Regions from separate parts of the Homo sapiens genome. Here region 1 is linked to region 2. The links are contacts of gene promoters, found by promoter capture Hi-C in human tissues and cell types (Jung and others, 2019). All regions are on one chromosome and are shown on one strand. The core of a region is centred on a gene start or on the middle of the fragment in contact, and the rest is flanking DNA. Distances in the headings are between cores, read along the strand shown. Region 1 overlaps WNT2 (Wnt family member 2). Region 2 holds the start of TES (testin LIM domain protein).

Region 1 (2,993 bases), core at 493-2,992, 1.1 Mb before region 2:
CTCCTTCCCAAAACAGTCTTATTTCCTTGACTTTATAACTACACTCCTCTGCTTTTCCTCCTGCTCCAATAACTAGTCCTTTCTGATTTCAGTTGCTAGTTTCTCCTTCTCCAAATTTTGAAGATCTTCCAGGCTGTCTGAACTCTCTTTGCTCTCTCTCTGTACTTTCTCCCTGGTTTGGTCTCTCCATTCCTATGGTTTTAAATGCTGTCCCTGTCCTTGTCTGCCTTCTGTACCATCATCCTGTATCCAATTCCCTGCTTGACAGCTTCACCCAGATTTCATACAATTATATCAACCTGCTTCTGCTTAAAACTGGACTCCTTATTTGCCCTGTCCCCTGAAACTTGTTTTCCCCCAGCCCTCCTCATCTCAGAAAATGGTACTGCCTGCCACCCACTTCCATGGTCAAGCATAAACCTGCGAGTCATTCCTTACACTCCTTCCTTGTCACCTCCATCATCCCGGGTACCACTGGGACCTCTTAAATGTGTCAAGGACCTATCTGCTTCTCCATCCTTACTACCAACCCCTAGGTCCAAACAGAGCTATGTTCTTTTGAGCATAGCATGTGCCACAGTGTGTATAGCGAATTTGTATAAACATGTGTTTGTGACCTGCCTGTACCAATGGAGTCCACTGAGGATCCTGTGACGGCAGGAACTGTATCTGCCTTGCTCACTAGTTCCCCAACTCCTAGTACACAAACATGTGTTGAAGTGAATTGAATGGCAAATTATAAAAAAACATAAAACAGTTTCATTAGATTAGCTGCATTCTTCTGTGTGTTAGCGCTGCTTCATAGCTTAAAGATAACTTGGTTCCTTTGAAGGGGATTACTAGGCACATCTCCACCCAGCACTGCTTAGCTTTTAACTCACAGCCTATGAAAATTCCCATTTAAGCTTAAGTGTTCAATGGAATTTTTCCTCATATTCAGGCGCATTCATGAGGCATTTATGGAGTTTCAGATGTTGCTTGCCTGGCTATTCCCCTGGAGATAAAAAGTCTCAAGTGGGCCGGGCGCAGTGGCTCACGCCTGTAATACTAGCACTTTGGGAGGCCGAGGCAGGAGGATCATGAGGTCAGGAGATCAAGACCATCCTGGCTAACACGGGGAAACCCCGTCTCTACTAAAAATACAAAAAAATTAGCCGGGCGTTGTGGTGGGCGCCTGTAGTCCCAGCTACTCAGGAGGCTGACAGGAGAATAGCGTGAACCTGGGAGGCAGAGCTTGCAGTGAGCCGAGATTGTGCCACTGAACTCCAGCCTGAGCAACAGAGCAAGACTCTGTCTCAAAAAAAAAAAAAAAAAAAAAAAAAAGTCTAACGTGAACTAATGCATCAGCAGACTATATCTATCGCTTTTAACTGGCAGCAGAGACTCAGTTCTTTTACTCTTGGAGGGGCATTTTTCACTCACTACTATCAGTGGCCTCCCTGAGTAGTTCCTAATTCTCATATTAACAGCAAAAATACTTTTCACATCCAATGCTCTTTGATGTTGTAGGCAGAATCTATAAATCTGTGTTATTTTTAAAATACAAACTTAGTAGAATTACTATATTTTTAGGATACACTAAAATGTGCCTTAATTTGAATTGACAGTGGTAATCAGATTGAATTGTGAATACTGAAAAAAGGATTTTTTTTCTAAAAAAAAAGATACTTTTCAGGAAAAAAATGTTTATTTTCTTATTTCTAATTCTTTGACATAGTTTGAACTACTGACAAATACTTTACCAAATAGATGCCCTTTTATCTTTGTATTTTGGAAATAGAAACTACTCATTTCGAATTACCAATTAAATGTGTTGCAAACAAAAGGATGACGTTAAAATACTTTAAAATAACAAATTTGCTTACTTCATTTAAGCTTTCCCCATGACACCTATTTTGTACTGGTAAATATCTTTTTTAAAGATATGCAAATTTCATATTATTAGGGAAAGAGCCCTGTGTGATCTATAAGGAGACTTTGGTGCTACAGATTGCTGCATATCACTATTTCTCCAATTGGACTAATGGGCAAATTAACTTCTCTGGGTCTCTTAAGAAATGGCTGTTTCATCTAGCAATTTCTAAGGTTCCTTTGATTCAGTAAGTGAATGAATTAATTATTAAGTTTAATTAAGTTTGCAATAACAGAACCTTAAATTGATACCACAAACTTTCTTAAGTTGTCATTTTTAATTTCTATCATTTAAAAATGTGCCACGTTTTTGGTATGTGTTTTCCATATACCAAGCAAGATCATTTTAACAGAGCCAAGGTTTAGCTGGTCTGCTGCCACCATGGTGCCTGAAGACTGGGTGACCAGTCCCTGGAGAAATGTGCCCTCATCAGGCAAAAGGAAAGCTGATCTTAATTTTTTTTTTTCTTTTCCCTGAGACGGAGTCTTGCTCTGTCACCTAGGCTGGAGTACAATGGCCCAATCTCAGCTCACTGCAACCTCTGCCTTCTGGGTTCAAACGATTCTCCTGCCTCAGCCTCCCGAGTAGCTGGGATTACAGGTGTCCACCACCATGGCCAGCTAATTTTTGTATTTTTAGTAGAGATGGGGTTTCACCATGTTGGCCAGGCTGGTCTTGAACTCCTGACCTCAAGTGATCTGCCCACCTTGACCTCCCAAAGTGCTGATATTACAAGCATGAGCCACCACACCCAGCCTTGATCTAAATTTTTAAGACACTATTTTTAATGTAATATTTAATAAATCAGCACATATGTGTTGACCACACAGTATATAGAAGAAAGCATAAGAAGAAAGCATAAGACCCAACCCCTGTCCCTGGGGAGACAAGATGCATGAAAAAATGATCAAATATTTCCAAACAGTGCATGAACCCTGTGGCGTGATGTGCATTACAGGCCTAATGAAGGAGGTTAGCTGGGCTTGCAGACCGAAAGTGCTGTATAGAAAATGCTGAAGTAGGCCTGAATCTGGAAGGATGGGAAGACTTCTGATGGAAGGAGTTACAGGAAAGGCCAATG
Region 2 (3,000 bases), core at 448-2,947:
TTACTTTTGCAAAGTTGTCTTCAAATAAATACTTAAAAGCAAGGACAAGACCCCCCAAGTTTTAGACAAGTACTAAATTAAGTAGCTCTTACCTACTTGAAAACTAAATGAGAGTAGTATTCATCAACAGAAAGCTAAGCGGGCAAAATGCTTTCCCCGCTTTTCCCCCATGACAAGCAAGATTAACCAAAAATATTACAGTTATTTAAAAGAAAAAAAGAAAGAAACCAAATGGGAAGAGAATAGAATGCAATCACGCTACCATTAACAATTTATGTTTTTCTGTTCTTGGATACCTTTTTGAGTGCCTGAGAATTTTAGTCGCAAGGAATGAAAAAAACTGTTTTCTCATTTCGAGTTTTTATTGGTCAATAGCTTCCTAACCGAAAACTCTGCAGTCCTAACACAATATTTTGTATCCATTTTCAAAAATCCAGTTCTGGGCATAAAATAGAATTAATGCTCAAGTCAAAAACTTTGTGTTTAGAAGATAAAATATTAGGAACCATGAGTATGAGAAAAACAAAAACTGTTTTCTGTATTTTTCCCTTCCTCTCTCTGCAAAACTTCTCTATTTGATAAGGGACAGCTAGCTTAAATTTACCACAAAGTAAAACATGAGCAAATCCCCTGGAACGAGGAGAACTTTCGCACAGGGCAATTCACTCGAATGTGACATCAGCATTCCTTCTGAGTCATAGTCTGGTCCCCACCCTTTTCTCCCAGGCGACACCAGGCTCCGCATAACCCGGGAGTGGCTCAGGTAGGGCCGTCGGTTCCAGTGCCTGCGAGGCAGCAGCCAAGCTGAAAATGTCTCCCTGCGCTGAGACGCTGGTGACAACCGCCCTTTGGGACTACCTGCCAAACAAGGAGAATGCGCTCTTTGACAGATAATTCCCTAAGAGGGAGGCACTGCCTCGGTCGGTAGACAAGTAATGAATGACCGAAAAAAAAATCACATTAGAAGTTATCACCAGCACGGGTGCGAAGGCAGTGCATTAAATCAACACTCATTTTAGAGCGCCCCAGACAGCCCAGCCGGAAGGGAGGAGATCAGAGCTGTCAAAGCACAGCAGAGCCCCAAACCACAAAGGCTTAATGAAATTCAACTTCCTGAGCCAGGAAGTGTCACGGTCTCGCCCGCACTCGCCCTAAGCTCGTCCTTTCCTTTTGAGGAGGCACAGGCAGAGCTGAAACATCTTAAGTAAAGTTTCCAACACCTACAACCACTGGGATTCCGTGAGACTGGAGAGAAGAGTCCCGCGCCCGCCCTCGCTCGCGCTTCCAATTCTGTCGCTCCCGAGTGTGGGGAGCTGGCGGGGCCGCCGAGCACCTCCTCTACCCAGGGGGCCAGGTCCCTGGGCCCGGGGCACCGCAGACCCAGAGCCGGGCTCACACCGGGGGGCCCGCGAGCCCCACCCACCTCGGCACCTCCGGCCGCCGCGCGCCGCGCGACCCGCGCAGGTGAAGCAGCCGCCGCCCGCCACGAGCGCCCCCCTACCTTCTTCACTTTGTTTTCCAGGTCCATGTTAACGCGTCCTATGGGTCCCCTCCTCCTCCTATCCGGGATCCCACGGCCGGGTTCAGCTGGCCTCCGGCTCCGCTGCGAACACGGGAAACCTGCGGAACTCCCGCGGCGCCGCTCAACAGCCACTCGCCCGGCGCCGTCGAACTTCCGCCGCCCAGTCCGCCGCAGCGGGCCTGCGGCCCGGACCCGGGAACAAAGGGGGCCGGGCAGCCAATGGCAGCCGGGCAGCTCCGGGCCGCCGCCAATCACCGAGCGCCGCACGCACCTTCGCGGCCCGAGCGCGGCGCTGGCAAGGTGAGAGGCGGGGCGGCGTCCGAGGCGGCGCCCTGCTGGGCAAGCTCAGTGACCCTGACCTGGTCTCCGAAGGGATTCTCTGGGCGTCCACGGGCCGGCTTCTAAAGAGCTGGGATCCCCAGCCTCCCTCTAGCTGAAGATGGAGAAGAACTTTTTCCATTTGGCAATTTGTACCTGTGTTTGCCCAGGACTTTTTATTTGGGTCAAGGGGAATAGTTATCCCAATACTAACTTCTCAGTTTATTTTCAGGGTAAAGAGAGAAAAAAAAGAGAGAGAGAGAGATTGTAGGGATCGTTAGGGATTCCTGTGATGGACCTTGGGCACTAAATTCAATATTGCGTTGTGGAGATGCCCTTTCCTCAATTGCTTTTTTCCACAATCCCAAATACTGTCAAGAAACCGTATCTTACATCCCTAAAGTCAGCGAAGATTCTTAGATTGTTTTCTGAGCATTGGGTTGTTCAAAAGTAAAGATGATGTGAATCACTTCAGAAACAGGTTGTGTCATTCCTTTGGAAGCAGAGGGTTGCCCTTTGTCTCTGTGTGAGATGGTGCTAGGCCTATCGCGTGCTCAGGCTTTGATGAAGCAGAGTCATCACATTGGTGCACCAAAGCTGAATTCATTTCATGCCCTAATTCAGGAGCAATTGCATCTAATACCATCAGATTGGTCGGTCTGGAAGGGAGCCTAACGATTACTTAGTCTAGCTTCCTCACTTTGCAGGGAACTGAGGACTCCAGAGGTGCAGGGACCTGCCTAATGTCTTAGCCTGTTGGGGACAGAGGCATTGCTCATGAATCTAAACAACTTCTCAAAGATGTTTGGGGCTGGAAGCACAGCATGTTGACTAAGGAAAAAGAGCAGTCAATTTTCTTCAATTTGTGGTTATGGCAAAAAATAACATTGCCCAGACAGCAGGTGACCTAATTTGGCACCTACTTTTAAAAATAACAAAACAATATAAAACAAACAAACAAAAATTCCCTAATAATGCAGATATTCAGGTCCAGATGTATGTCTGCCTTGCCTCGAGAAATTTGGTAGCTAAAAATATCCAAAATTCATTTTAGCCAATACTTGCAACTCTGCTTACTTGATTATTTGTTAACACAGAGCATTGATTTATAATGTGCATGTTTCCTTTATCCTATTAAGAATTAAAACTGAAATTACCAA

The links. Contacts are between HindIII fragments. The study calls those that stand out against the background at their distance.
Region 1: a contact is called between a fragment that was not itself captured here and the fragment with the promoter of TES in region 2, in 1 of the 25 tissues and cell types used here (dorsolateral prefrontal cortex).

Annotation. Positions count from the first base shown.
Region 1 is chr7:117,287,382-117,290,374 of GRCh38, reverse strand. All of the region lies in intron 4 of WNT2 (Wnt family member 2), which reads left to right. All of the region lies in intron 1 of LOC124900596 (a long non-coding RNA gene), which reads right to left. Among named protein-coding and RNA genes, the nearest start is that of WNT2, 34 kb to the left of the region's middle. The HindIII fragment of the contact is 3,972 bases long and covers 1-2,993 here.
Region 2 is chr7:116,209,236-116,212,235 of GRCh38, reverse strand. TES (testin LIM domain protein) reads right to left here and starts at 1,697. Exons shown (of 7, transcript NM_015641.4): 1 at 1,502-1,697. The coding sequence starts at 1,528. RefSeq lists an enhancer at 769-1,008 and silencers at 1,369-1,458, 1,599-1,798, 1,553-1,815, 1,849-1,978. The HindIII fragment of the contact is 11,100 bases long and covers 1-3,000 here.